2 separate regions of the Homo sapiens genome follow, and region 2 is linked to region 1. Evidence: promoter capture Hi-C in human tissues and cell types (Jung and others, 2019). All regions are on one chromosome and are shown on one strand. The core of a region is centred on a gene start or on the middle of the fragment in contact, and the rest is flanking DNA. Distances in the headings are between cores, read along the strand shown. Region 1 holds the start of CHERP (calcium homeostasis endoplasmic reticulum protein). Region 2 holds the start of HAUS8 (HAUS augmin like complex subunit 8).

What was found. The method cuts DNA at HindIII sites, captures the fragments that hold promoters and counts their contacts. A contact is called where the count stands out against the background at its distance.
Region 2: a contact is called between the fragment with the promoter of HAUS8 here and the fragment with the promoter of CHERP in region 1, in 1 of the 25 tissues and cell types used here (dorsolateral prefrontal cortex).

The regions. Positions count from the first base shown.
Region 1 is chr19:16,538,490-16,545,851 of GRCh38, forward strand. CHERP (calcium homeostasis endoplasmic reticulum protein) reads right to left here and starts at 3,948. Exons shown (of 17, transcript NM_006387.6): 1 at 3,865-3,948; 2 at 3,381-3,554. The coding sequence starts at 3,889. It also overlaps the pseudogene RN7SL146P. RefSeq lists silencers at 3,580-3,649, 3,660-3,849. The HindIII fragment of the contact is 9,580 bases long and covers 1-5,612 here.
Region 2 is chr19:17,074,052-17,081,413 of GRCh38, forward strand. HAUS8 (HAUS augmin like complex subunit 8) reads right to left here and starts at 1,401. Exons shown (of 11, transcript NM_033417.2): 1 at 1,343-1,401. The coding sequence starts at 1,371. It overlaps MYO9B (myosin IXB), which reads left to right and starts at 1,726. Exons shown (of 40, transcript NM_004145.4): 1 at 1,726-1,823. RefSeq lists enhancers at 1,144-1,343, 5,708-6,245 and silencers at 1,524-1,873, 1,868-2,162, 5,596-5,695. The HindIII fragment of the contact is 30,356 bases long and covers 1-4,230 here.

The DNA of each region.
Region 1 (7,362 bases), core at 2,698-5,197:
CTGGCCAACATGGTGAAACCACATCTCTACTAAAAATACAAAAATTAGCTGGGTGTGGTGGCGCACGCCTGTAGTCCCAGCTACTTGGGAGGCTGAGGCAGGAGAATCGCTTGAATCTGGGAGGCAGAGGTTGCAGTGAGCCAAGATCTTGCCACTGTACTCCAGCCTGGGCAACAAGAGCAAGACTCCATCTCCAAAAAAAAAAGAAAGCACTTCTTGGCTTCAATCTTCCTGGGCTATAAGCATAAGCACCCTCTCCTTCCTCATAATGGCACCAGCTTCCAAGTGGCCACCCCCCCGCCCCAGAAAGGGAAAGCAGCCCTTAGCTCAGTCACCCAAGCCAAAGCACCGTCTGAGGTGTCTTCCTCCCCTGCTCATTACACCATCAGGTCGTCAATATGCAACTGGCGCCCAAGTTCATGGATTCTACCCCTTCACCCCACCTGCCCCCCATGCTCCCTCCCTCAGGCTCAACCTACTGACTTAATTCAGACCCCACCATCTCTCACCTAAACAACTGCCCTGTTTGCTCCCCTGCAGGCCTCACTGCTCCCCAGGCTGGTCCCTGTAGCTTGTCCTACACCACCGGCCACACAACCCAAGCCACCCTCTCCCTTGTTTAAAACTCTTGTGGCTTCCCGCTGCCTTTAGAAACGGTTTTTTTTTTTTTTTTTTTGAGACGGAGTCTCGCTCTGTCGCCCAGGCTGGAGTGCAGTGGTGCGATCTCGGCTCACTGCAAGCTCTGCCTCCCAGGTTCACGCCATTCTCCTGCCTCAGCCTCCCAAGTAGCTGGGACTACAGGCGCCCGCTACCACGCCTGGCTAATTTTTTGTATTTTTAGTAGAGACGGGGTTTCACCGTGTTAGCCAGGATGGTCTCGATCTCCTGACCTCGTGATCCGCCCGCCTCGGCCTCCCAAAGTGCTGGGATTACAGGCGTGAGCCACCGCGCCCGGCCTAGCAACGGTTTTAAACTTGGTGTGCTGGGGCTAAGGAAGGATCGCTCTAGAAACACATAAGCACATACAATATTTTGCTTACGATTTCAGGCAGCTGATCTCTCTCCACCCCACCCCCGCATCTCAAACCTAAATAGGCATCAGAAAAACCCCTGGATTGAGTGAAAAAACCCAAACTTTTCCCCTGGCAGTTAACACTCCAGGTCAAACTCTTCCCTCATACAAGCACATTCTTTTATTAAATAGATTCTCTACTATGTCACCCAGGCTGGAGTGCAGTGGCTATTTACAGGCGTGAGGCCACTACTGATCGGCACAGGAGTTTCGACCTGCTCCATTTCTGACCTGGGCCAGTTCACCACCCCTTAGACAGTCGAGTGGTCCCCAGCTCCCAGGGGGTCACCATACTGACACTGAACTTACTGCACACACTCAATCGACACAGCGCACTACAGCCCTGAACTCCCGGGCTCAAGCAACCCTCCAGCCTCAGCCTCTTGAGTAGCTGGGGGTACGGTGTGTGCCACTGTGCCTGGCAATACACACATAAACTCTCTCTCTGTTTCTTGTTCAAGAAACTGCCCCTTTGCAATGTTCTACTCTCTCAGCCTTTCAAGTTTTTGTTGTTGTTGTTGTTAGATGGAGTTTCGCTGTCTCCCAGGCTAGAGTGCAGTGGCACGATCTTGGCTCACTGCAACCTCCACCTCCCAGGTTCAAGCGATTCTCCTGCCTCAGCCTCCCGGGTAGCTGGGACTACAGGTGCCCACCACCATGCCTGGCTAATTTTTTTTGTATTTTTAGTAGAGATGGGGTTTCACCATGTTGGCCAGGCTGGTCTCGAACTCCTGACCTCAAGTGATCCGCCTGACTCAGCCTCCTAAAGTGCTGGGATTACAGGCACAAGCCACTGGGCCTGGCCTCCTTTCAAGCTGCTTTTTTTTTTTAGATGGAGTCTCATTCTGTCACCCAGGCTGGAGCGCAATGGTGTGGTCTCGGCTCAATGCAACCTCCAGCTCCCAGGTTCAAGCGATTCTTCTGCCTCAGCCTCTCCAGTAGCTGGGACTACAGGTGTGTGCCACCACACCTGACTAAGTTTTGTAATTTTAGTAGAGATAGGGTTTCACTATGTTAGCCAGGCTGTTCTCAGACTCCTAACCTCAAGTGATCTGCCCGCTTCAGCCTCCCAAAGTGCTGGGATTACAGGCGTCAGCCACTACGCCTGGCCTCCTTTCAAGCCTTTTCTTTTTCTTTCTTTCTTTTTTTTTTTTGAGATGGAGTCTTACTCTGTCACTCAGACTGCAGTGCAATGGCGTGGTCTTGGCTTACCGCAACCTCCACCTCCCGGGTTCAAGCGATTCTCCCGCCTCAGCCTCCCAAGTAGCTGGGACTACAGGCGCGGGCCACCACACCCGGCTAATTTTTGTATTTTTCGTAGAAACAGGGTTTCACTATGTTGGCCAGGCTGGTCTCAGACTCCTAACCTCAAGTGATCTGCCCGCCTTGGACTCCCAAAGTGCTGTGATTACAGTATGAGCCACTGCAACAGGCCTCCTTTCAAGCTGTTTAATCGAACACCAACTGTGTGTTATGTATTAAGGGACAATGACCTTGTACCTTAATACAAGACGAGCGTGTAGTCCCCTGAACTACACGCTCGCCGAAGCCAAACAGACCTTGTTTGGGTCATTGTACCTTAATACATAACACACAATTGGCGTTCGATCAAACAGCGGACAACCACCTCTCAATGTCCATCTACCTGGCAAACTCCTAGTTATTCATTTAAACAATCTAGAGACGGGGTTGGGTACTGAACGTGACAGATGTGATACCTGCCCTGAGCAGCCGCACCACCTGGTGACTATCCATTATTCAAAGGCCAGCTCTGCTTCCTAACTTTAAACTTCTTTAGAGCAGGACTGGAATCCTGTTGCCTAAATGAACGAACATTGATAAACACTTGCCAATAACTAAAACTCAGAGGGATAATTCTTTTTGATTTCTGCTGCAGGCATCTGAAATGCACAAAACCTTGCTGGACCCACAGGGAGACGGCAAAGGGGGCTGGACAGTGCCTGTCCCATGGACTCCCATCCGGCCTCTATCACTTCCTCCCTAGAAAACACTAAAACAATCACGCTACTCCTGCTAATCTCCGTCATCAGTCTGCAAAACAACAGCAAAATCCCTGATCCAGAGCCCAGGGGGGAGGATCGAAAACCTCGTTGTTCTCCATTACAGTGGCACCCAGCAGCCGCTCTGTGCAGGGCCGTGGGAACAGCGGAACAGGGATCGTGTGGACCGAGCTGCTCCACTTCAAAGAATAAACGACCCGAAAGAAAGAGGTTTGTGGCAGAGCCCGGACTGGAATCCGAGAAAGGAAGCGCTCGATGGGACGGCCTGAGTGCCGGAGGGGACTCACGCTGCTGCTGCTCCAGCGCCAGCTTGCACTTGTAGTAACTGTAGAATTCGCCTCCGAAAAGAAACGAGAATTTGGGGTTGTCCTTCTGCTTCTCCATAGTCATCTTCTCAAACTCGGGCCCATTGCGAGCCACGAACTGGGCGAGCTTGTCGATGACATTTCGAAGCTCCTGGTCTGGAGGACGGAGAAAAGGCCACGCGGGGCGTCAGCGAGGACCGCCCAAAGCCGGGGGACTCGGCGCCCCAGCCCCCGTCCGCCTTGCCGGGGACCCCAAGGGGGTGGGCCCCGAAGAGGCCGCCCTTGTACGGGTCCCGATAGGGGCCACACGCTCGCCGGGAATGCGGGGACCCACGGGAGAGGCCGCAGGCGAAGCCGCGAGGCCGAGCCCCGCCCCCTCCCAGACCCGGGGACTCCGGGAGGCGGGGCCGGCCAATAGGAGGTTCCGGGGAGAGAGAAACGGTCTCTCGGCCGGTTTGGGTCTCACCATCGGGGGGCAGCGGCATCTCCATGGCTCCGGCCGCGGGGAACGTCCTCCGGCGCCACACGATCGACCACCAGCGCCGTCTGCGGAAGCCGGCCGGAAGTGGCGCGAGGGAGCCGTTTACGGCGGGCTTCTAGGGCCGCTTCCGCCCGCCACTTACGGCCGTCGCTGGGAAACTCCGGAAGTGAGAGCGGGAGGCAGGCGGGAAGAAGCCGCGCGATGCCTGGCGCGCGGGAGGGGCTAGCGACGCGCACGCGCAGAAGTTTCCTGACACTTTCGCAGAGTGGGTCCCCGTCGCGCGGCGCCGCGGAAAGGCTGGAACGGCGCGGGTGGGTGTTAGTCGAGACCGGGGGGCGCGGGGCGTGCCCCTTGGTCGGCGTCGCAGCCCGATGGGCTGGCTGGTTGCTACCTCCGGGCGACCAGGGGCCTGGGGACTTCGTGCCTGGGCCAGGGTCTCTTTCCTTTCGCGGGCACAGTGAGGAGACTGCGAGGTGAGGTGCGTCCGGGTGGATCCCGGGCTGCGGCGACTGTCACATTCTCCCCGGCCAGACCGGAGGTGGAGCAGAACTGGGGGCGACGAGCTTGACTGGGATTGCAGCTGGACGTATTTAGGTTCAAAACATCCTCCTCCTGGCTTTCTTCCGCTCCACTCTTTGGTCAGGAAGACTGGGGCGGGGTACCCCCCAACCCATGCCCTCAAATTGCTGGCCTAGAGGGCACAGCGCCTTTCTAAAAGCTGCAGTTGGGTTGCCTCTAAAATAATGAAGCTAACCCTTGCTAATTGTGGGGAAAAGATAGCCAGAAGCAGCAAATTTCTGCTGTGGACGTCCGATATAAACTGATCCTCTTGAGATGGTTAATGCTTAGTTGGCTATACCTGCCCCCCGCCCCCGCCGCTTTTTTTTCCTTTATCCGTTTTTTTTTTTCTTTTTTCTTGAGACAAGGTCTTGCTCTGTGGCCCACGCTGGAGTGCAGTGTCATGATCATAGCTCACTAGCCCTGAACTCCTGTGCTCAAGTAATCCTCCCGCCTCGGCCTCCCAAAGTGCTAGGATTATAGGCATGAGCTACTTTACCCAGCCTGTTTTTTTCTGTGCAAATAAATGCACATGTATTTTAGATTAGTTTCATTTTTATTGTTAACAGCATTTTTCCACCAGATGCTTATGGATTGACAACTCTACATCAAGTGTTGCTGTAGGCTAGGAATCAACAAAACTTTTTGTATAAAAGGGACAGAAAGCAAATATTTTAGACTCTGCAGGTCAGGAGGCAAGATCAAGGATTTTTTTTTTTCTAAATGTCCTCTAGTTCATATTTTCTCATGAAGATCGAGGATCTTAATTGTTTGGTTTTTTTTTTTTTTTGAGACACAGTCTTGCTCTCTCTCGCCCAAGCTGGAGTGCAGTGGTGTGATCTCGGTTCACTGCAACCTCTGCCTCCCGTGCTCAAGCAATTCTCCTGCCTCAGCCTCCAGGGGAGCTGGGACTACAGGTGCGCACCACCACGCCCGGCTAATTTTTGCATTTTTAGTAGAGATGGGGTTTCACCAGGTTGGCCATGCTGGTCTTGAACTCCTGACCTCACATGATCTGCCTGCCTTGGCCTCCCAGACTGCTGGGATTACAGGTGTGAGCCACCCTACCCAGCCTTATTTAGGTATTTCTATAACCAGAAAGAAAAGTTCATAAAATTTTTGTTGGTGAAAATCAAAATATGATAACTGAGTAGTTTCTTAAATACAAGTTGCTACAGTTTGAATGTTTGTTCCTAATCCCCAGTGAAACAGTATTAAGAGGTGGAGCCTTTAAGAGGTGATTGGGTTATGAGGTCGTGCCATTCATGTGTTAATGGATAAATAGGTTATCATGGGAGTGGGACTGGTTTGGAGCTTGCAGTGAGCTGAGATTGCACCACTGCACTCCAGCCTGGGCGACAGAGTGAGACTCCATCTCAAAAAAAAAAAATAAATAAAATAAATAAAATAAAATAAAAAGAGGAAGAAAGGCCAGGCTCAGTGGCTCATGCCTGTAATTCCAGCACCTTGGGAGGCCAAGGCACGCAGATCACCTGAGGTCAGGAGTTCGAGACCAGCCTGGCCAACATGGAGAAATCCCATCTCTACTAAAAATACAAAAATTAGCCGGGCATGGTGGCGGATGCCTGTAATCCCATCTACTTGGGAGGCTGAGGCACGAGAATCACTTGGACCCAGAAGGCAAAGGTTGAGGTGGAGGTTACAGTGAGCCAAAGTCGTGCCACTGCACTCCAGCCTGGGCAACAGAGCAGGACTCCGTTTCAAAAAAAAAAGGAAGAGAGACCTGAGCTTGCACACAGCCTGCTAGCCATGTGATGCCCTGTGCTACCTCAAGACTCTGCAGAGTCCCCACCAGCAAGAAGGCCCTTGATTTTGGATATCTCAGCCTCCAGAACTGTAAGAAATAAATTTCTCTTCTTTAAAAATTGCCCAGTCTCAGGTGTTCTTTTATAGCGATGCAAAATGGACTAAGACCCAAGTCTATTCATAAGAGTGGAATTCTTTTGGGGGATAACATTTCACTTAATTGGGGCTCCCAGTTGTATTTCCTGTCGTCAATTGATGGTACATGTTCACCTTTGAAAAACCTTCCTGGCTCACAAAAACAGGCGGCCAGTTGGATGTGGTTTATAGATACGGTCATGCACAACTCAGATCTCAGCTCTGCTCTCAGGGGACTCAGTCTATGGCGGGGAAGAGTCCCAAAATCAGTAAACAAATATATCATCTCAAAGGTGTTATTAAGAAGAGGATGCTGAGACTATGATACAAGGGAGGGTGAGGCCCAGGCTGATAGGGTTGTCAGGAAAGGCTCTCGAGGTGAGGTCTGCACTATGATCTGAACAAGGGGCCAGCTCTAAACACCCTAAACAGGCAGAGAGAACAGTGTGGGATCATACTGTTTATTTAAAAAATATTTTTTATTTTTTATTTTTTTTGAGATGGAGTTTCACTCTTGTTGCCCAGGCTGGAGTGCAATGGCGTGATCGCGGCTCACCACAGCCTCCGCCTCCCGGGTTCAAGCAATTCTCCTGCTTCAGCCTCTCGAGTAGCTGGGATTACAGGCATGCGACACCACACCCGGCTAGTTTTTTATTTTTAGTAGAGATGGGGTTTCTGCCTGTTGGTCAGACTGGCCTCAAACTCCCAACCTCAGGTGATCCACCCGCCTCAGCTTCCCAAAGTGCTGGGATTACAGGCATGAGCCACCGTGCCTGGCCCTAAATTTTTTATATATTTTTTTGAGACGGAGTCCTGTCTGTTGCCCAGCCTAGAGTGCTGTGGTTCAATCTCGGCTCACTGCACCTTCCGCCTCCCACACTCAAGTGATTCTCCTGCCTCAGCCTCCTAAGTAGATGGGATTACAGGCGCCTGCCATCACACCCAGCTAATCTTTGTATTTTTAGTAAAAACGGGGTTTCACCATGTTGGCCAGGCTGGTCTTGAACTCCTGACCTCAACTGA
Region 2 (7,362 bases), core at 151-2,650, 530 kb after region 1:
ATGTAATAGGAAAGAAGGGACCCTGAGATAGGAATCGCTGACTCATCAGCTGTGGGGGTGCAGGAGAGGGAGAATCTGGGATGACTAGGGGTTTCAGGGTTTCAGCCTGAGCTGGTGAGAAAAGAAGGGATCCAAGAACAGACACCAGCAACACAGGAGGGGCAAGTGGATGGGCAAGTGGAGGGGCAGGGCCAAGGCCAGGGCACTGTAACTCCTGCTCCCATCACCAAAGGCGGCTCCACTGGTCCCTGCGGCCACCTCCTCTGAAGCAGGCTCCCAGGACCCCAAAGTGAGACCCAGACAATGTTGGGGACACTTCCAGGCCACCGTGGGGAGAGGCAACTTAGCAAATGTTCGCCAGGTGCCAGCAGCTGCGCTCGCCCGTAGGCTCCTCCTAACCCGACAGCTTCCTAACTGTTCACACCTGCTTTTTCGTCGCTGCAAAACAAAGACGCACAGGTTTTACATAGGTCACCCCCGGGGCAGTCTCACAGCCAGAAAGAGACAAGAGCACAGACTCCCTCTGGGGACTGTGCTAGGGCTGTGGCCTCAAACCGAATGGGCTCCTGGGTGAACCTGCTGCGACCTGAGGGGGGTCCCTACAACCTGTGCGAGCCTCAGCTACTGCACCTGTACCTGGGAGGTGCTACTGTCAATCTATCGGTTACGGCAAGGGGCGGTGGAGTGATTCCTCTTGCTGGCCAATTTCACTTCAGTTTGCACCTGGCACAATCAACACTGGCAGAATTAACAAAACTAGACAAATATAGCCTCATGATCATTCATGCCTAGCTCTCGGTCAGTATTCAACTTCTTTCTTGTTCATGGTGTGTTACCCTAGGCAAGTCACTTCCCCTCCCTGGGTCTCCATCATCTCCTCAGTAAACTGGGAGCACAGAATAAAGCGCGTGGGAGGATTAAAGGGGACACTTTGGTCGCCCAACACTTGTTCACTGCATAACGATAATTCCAAGAGCGACATCACAGTAAAGACCCAGGCGCCGATCTAAGCGCGTTTCAGCCTCACGCGACGCCTACGAGGTTGAGCTGCGTCATCGGCCCCATTTCGTAGCGGAGGAAAGCGAGGCACTGGGCGGTCAGGCCGCTTGCCGGAGGTCGCCCAGCGTCCCAGCCGAGGACGCGGAACTCAGGGCCGGTCGGGTGTCAGCGCTCCGGAGCATGCGCAGAGGCAGCACGCCATCGGGGTCTTCAGGGGCCCGCGCAGTTCCTGGCGGGGTCGAACCCGAACTCACCCCGAGGGTCCTAACTCCCCACCTCCGCTGCCCATCCTCTCCAGCCCTATGGCGTCTACAAATCCAGACCTGCGGAAGCCCCAACTCACCCAGCGCCTCGCCCCGAGGAATCCGCCATTTTCCCGCCTTCCACCTCAAGGCCCGACCCGCCGGCTTTTCAAAGCCGGACCCGCCCCCTTGCTTGCGGGTCGGACCATTTGTGGAGACGCAGGAGGGGTGGCTGCGAGGCGTGAGGCAGCGCCGGCTAAGTGTGGAGAGCGCGGCCCCAGACGCGCGCTTCGCCTGTCCTCCCCTCGCACTTGGTCTCGCCCACCATCGGCGGTAGTGGGTAGGGGCGGTGGGTGGGACCTGATCTGTCGGACAGTAGGGGCGGGGCTTTTCGCGATGCCCCGCCCCTAGGAGCGCTGGCGTCACGCCCCCGTCCCCGCCTCTCCGGAACCCGGAAGCGGGAGCGCGCGGGGGAGCGGCGGGCGCGGCGGGGCGGAGCGGCTCGAGCAGCGGCGGGCTGGCAGGCGGTCGTCCGGCCGGGGACCCGGCCCGGGACCGGCGGCGCGCGGCGGCCGAGGCCAGGTGAGTACCAGGCAGCCTCGGGTTGGCGACTCGAGCTCGAAGCCTGCCTTTGGGGGCTGCGCAGAAGAGGGACGGAGCTGAGGGCTGATGGGGGACGCGACGGCAGGGGTCGAGGGGGCGGGAACGAGCCTGGGGGTCTTGGAGAGATTGCTGGGGATGAGGTGGAAGCGAGACGGTGAAGGAGAAAGTGGATGGGGATGGAGCTGGTGAGGGAGTTCGAGGGCGTGGGGGGGGTGAGTCTTGTGGCTTTGAGCAGCTTCTCTGAAGAGGACGTGGCTTAAGTGGTAATTGGGGGGTCGCAGGAAACGGCGTTGTGGGGAGGCACGGAGGCGGGAACGAGAGGCCCAGGCTGGGGGAGTGGGCAAGGCCAGGGGCGGGACAGCCGGGGTGCGGTTGAGGGGAAGGGGTGCGAGACCGATCTGGGGACGTCTGCCCGCGCGATTGAAGGAAGGGTGTCTGAGAAGAGGGCGGCGCCTGGCCCCCAGTGGGCGCTCAGTAAATGCGGGGGGTTCTGAACTAACTGATGCGGCAGCCGGCTATTGGGAAGCGGGGAAATGGGAGCTGGAAGGGAAGTAAACGGAGTAGAAGTCACGGTAAGAACTGAGGGTAGGCTTAGGGAGGGAGGGCCCGGAGAGGAGGGAAGAGAAGGAAGGGGTTAGAGTGGCCCCGTGCAGATAGATGTTGAGATGCAGCCCCTGGAGATTCCGTCCCCCCACCCTCCCCTCTTGATTCGTGTCCCTCCTGACTTCACACTTAACAGCTGGGTGACCTGGGACGAGTCCCAACACCCTCTGTGCCAGTGTCCTCGTCTTGGAAACTTCACCACCCTCCCCTTAAGACAGGACTAGCAGGATTCTGGGATTCCCTGGATCCAAGGAAGGGACCTCAGGGCCGGTTGTGGGGCCGGAACTGTGTTTCAGGAGGGAGTGTGCATGCACCCTCATGTACAGGACTGTCGCCACCTCCGCAGAGCTGCATCCTTGGACTTAAATGGGTAAAACGACATACAGGAAATCTGTCCCCCGGTTGCTCTGAGCTCAGCCCTGGAGAGGCACGACAGCCACGAGCCCTCCTTTCTTTCCTGGGCACCCTGGAGGCCAGGGGTCTTTAAGGGATGGCTTCTCTGCCTCTTTGTCTGAGGTGGGAGCCCGTGGGGACACTTTCCAGCCAGAGAGTCCCAACTCGGTTTGTTTTTTGATGTTGGAGTCTTCAGAATCTTAAGGTGTCCAGGAGCAGCCGGAGGTGACCTGGGCTACAGGAAAGTTATTCACATCTGACAGGCCTGGCTCTTGTGGCCCTGGCAGGGACTTTGTGCAGGGTGCTTTTGATTGGCATTCATTTCTCCCCTTTCCCAACTGTAGGGATCTTTATCTGGGATCTGCCAGAAGGGCTGGGGAACCCCAGCTTATGTTTAGTTTATAGCTCATTCAGGAGATGAACCCGGATAGCTGGAATATAAAGAGGGCCACAGAAAGATAAGCACCCCCTTCACTTCCAGAATATCCTGGCCTTTAGGAAAGGTGGCTTTGGCCTGGCTTGCCCCAGGACATGCAGTGACAGCCCACAGTCATGCCTCCTGCAAACATTGAACTGTAGGCTTGCACTGGCCTACAGAACAGGACCGGGATCTTCTGATCCCGCAGCCCTGCAATCGCCTCTTCCCTGCCGCTAGAGAATGGCCAAGCAGGGTCTTGTGGGGGGAGCACTGTGTTGGAGATCCTGGCTTTGGTCAAGTCTCTGTGCCTGTTTCTGACCTCTCACCTGCAAAATGAATGAATTGACCTCCATCAGCGTTTTTCAACCTTGAAACCCAACTCTTCTCATCACCGTCTTGTCTCCAGTCCATGTCCCCCAGCTCCCGGCCTTGAACTCCTCACAGCACCCCCACTCTCCATTCCTGGCTGCGATGATCCTACTTTTATTCCGTTTTCCATTCGACAGTTTGTATCCAAAAATGATTTTTTTTCAACCGCTTCTTCATCGTCCAAATAGAAAATTGCGGTGTTGAAGGTGCTTTTGCACATTGCACCTATTCCCAAAGCTTTGGAAACTGCAAATTTCTGGAAATCCCGAGGCAGTACCGTCCCTCGGGTCCAGTCTGGTGACTCAGTGGAGCAGGTAGAGACGTGGGAATCTCCCCTTTCTGTTTGGCTGTAGGATTCGTTATTCTCTCCCCACATGGACTTGTTAACTTGCTGCTTCCCATTCCTCATCTCTTCCAAATGGTGTGTCTTGGGTGGGCCTAGATTTCAGTTAGGCAAGGGTTGATTGTGCCAGACACTTGGTAGATTCCTGGGGACAGAGGTGAATCCTTATGACCCAGAGGACGGACACGCTAATGCCCGCCCCCGACAACTTTGCACTTCCTCTTCAGAAAGAATGGAGTTCAAGCTGGGCCGCGGTGGCTCAGGCCTGTAATCCCTTTGGGAGGCCAAGGTGGGTGGATCACAAGGTCAGGAGTTCAAGACCAGCCTGACCAATATGGAGAAACCCTGTCTCCACTAAAAATACAAAAATTAGCCCGGCGTGGTGATGTGCGCCTGTAGTCCCAGCTACTCTGGAGGCTGAGACAGGAGAATTGCTTGAACCCAGGAGGCGGAGTTTGCAGCCAGCCAAGATTGCGCCATTGCACTCCAGTCTGGGTGACAGAGCAAGATGCCCTCAAAAATAATAATAATTAAAAAAAAGAATGGAATTCAGATCAGGTCATCAGTACGGTGACAGAGGGGCCACAAGATATTATGGGGGGAGAATTAGGGACAACCAATGCAAGCTTTAGGACAAGGGGGATTCCAGCAAGTTTCCTCGGAAGTAGTGGCTGGCCCCAGGTCAAACCTGGAAAGATACCACGTGTTAAACCACTCCGGGTGGAAGGGATTGCACAAGCAGATACCTTTGAAGCCCGGCCTGTACAGGGCATCCCAGCTCTCTCATTCTGCCAACCGGCAGTGCGAGGGTCCTTGTTCTTATCTTCCTGATACAGAAACAGGCCCAGGCAGGTGATGACTTCAGAGATGGTTCCTTGAGCTTTCTAGAAACATGCAGGATCCTTAGTAACCTTTAACTGGGGAAACCCAAATCTCCAGGGCCGTTTCTCACCCGCATCACCATTGACAGTTGGGGCTGTGCACTGTAGAATGTGGAATAGTGTCCCTGGCTGTCACCCATGAGATGCCAGTAGTATTCCATCCCCTCCAAGGGGTAACAACTGAAAATGACTCCAGCCATGGCCACGTGTCCCCTGGGGGCAGAATCACCTCCCCCGCCAGGTGAAATGTGATGCTCATTAGTAAAACCTGGTTCCCCTCTAGGGCCCATCATTGCCTTGGTGGGTCCTTGGTGTTTGTGGAGCCCCTGAGGAACTGCCACTAAGAGTGGGAACAGGGGCAGAGACCAGGAACTGAATCCTGCCATCCAGTCAGTTCTTAATCAGGAGGGAGCGGGTCTTGATAAAAAGGAGGAACCGTTAGGAACGGACTGTGGGAGGGTAGGCAACGTGCCCGAGGGTGGACAGCGGGTGCCCTTGTCTTTTCTTTGTCTTGTGACTGACCTGGATTTCTGGAGGAACTGTCCTCGTCTTAGAATGATCTGTTGCTTTTCTTCTGAGATTAGAGGTATTAGATTCTCTCCCAAGAGCTACTTTGGAGGTTGCCCCGGATAAACGTCGCTTTTGTAAGCTGCATTATCTCTTCCATGGGCCCTTTCGCCCGCCCGTTCCCAAGCACATACTGCTGAATTTTTGTTCTTGGTCCATCTTGCTGTCCCCTTCCCTGCTTGGCCCCCTCCTTGACCGTGACTTTGCTGCTTTACCTTGATTGGAGGAGACGCTCTGGGGCCACGGGACTGACGGTCCCTTCTGGGTGCTGCCCCCACACCCCACCCACCAGCCCTTTGTGTGCCCGGCATCCCCAGCCCAGCTGTGCCAGGCTGCCCCTGCTCGGCCGGCCATTCAGACGGCCCCAGGCGGCCTCTCGGCAAAGCAAGACAAGCCCTTCTCTTCTGCCCTCGTGGTCCCTGGAGTGGCAGAACAAAGGGCTCTGTCTCCACACCAGCCCACCGCCGCAGCCCAGAGCCCCGTTCCCTTTCAATTTCTATCGTGGCTGGGAAAGAGCCTCAGAGATTAGGCATGTTTCAGAAATGCAGCTGACGAGTTTGGGTTCTACTCATTTCCTCAGCGAGACTTTCTGAGCCCGAGCCCGATGATAAATAAAGTAGTGATTCAAGGGTTCAGCCCATGGGTTCGTCGGAGTGATGAATAAGATATCCTTGTCTGACTCACTTGTTTAAAACCCATCTCTGCCCTGCTGCACAGGGCTGTATGTGCAAGAGAAGGAGCCCCGCTAGGGGTGTTTCATGACTGTTGTTGCTGGGTGCCTGAGTTTGCTAGGGCTGCTGTAACAGAACCGCACGCTGGGTGGCCAGAACGACAGAAGTATATTGGCTTGCAGTTCTAGAGGCCAGACGTTTAAGATCACATTCAAGATCAAGGTGTTGGCAGGGTTCGTGCCTTCGGAGGGCTGTGAGAATCTGTTCCACGCCTCTCTCTGTTGGCTCATACATAGCCGTCTTCCCCTGGGTCTTCACATCGTCCTCCCTCTGTGCCTGTCTCTGTGTCCAAATTTCCTCTTATGAGGACAGCAGTCATATGGAAGGGGGCCCACCCTAATGACATCATTTTAACTGAATCATCCCCATAAAGACCCTGTCTCTAGGCGAGGCTTGGTGGCACACGCCTGTAATCTCAGCCCTTTGGGAGGCTGAGGCAGGAGGATCACTTGAGGCCAGGAGTTTAAGACCAGCCTGGACAACATAGCAAGATCCCATCTCTACAAAAAAATACTAAAATTAGCTAGACATGATGGTGAATGCCTGTGGTCCCAGCACTTTAAGAAGCTGAGACAGACAGATCGCTTGAGCCTGGGAGTTTGAGGCTACAGTGAGCTATGATCATGGCACTGCATTCCAGCCTGGGTGACAGAACGACACCCCCATCTCTTAAAAAAAAAAAAAATCCCAAATATACTCATACTCTGAAGTTCTGAGGTTTAGGATTTCAATATGTGAATATTTCTTTGTGGAGGGGAGTGGTGGACACAGCTCAGCCCATAATACTGAGAAAAGGACAAATTCAAATTACATTTTTATTTATTTGTTTATTTATTTTGGGGGCGGGGGCAGAGTCTCACTCTGTCACCCAGGCTGGGGTGCAGTGACGCGATCTCAGCTCACTGCAACCTCTGTCTCCCAGGTTCAAGTGATTCTCCTGCCTCAGCCTCCCGAGTAGCTGGGACTACAGGCGTGCGCCACCACGCCCAGCTACTTTTTGTATTTTTAGTAGAGATGGGCTTTCATTGTGTTGACCAGGCTGGTCTTAAACTCCTGACATCAGGTGATCAGCCCGCTCGGACTCCCAAAGTGCTGGGATAACAGATGTGAGCCACCGTGCCCGGCCTCAACTTACATTTTTAGATAATATAGGAACCTGGAGGGAAATGATCGTGTCAATAGAGAATAGGTCCATTTTGTCTCTTCTCACTCC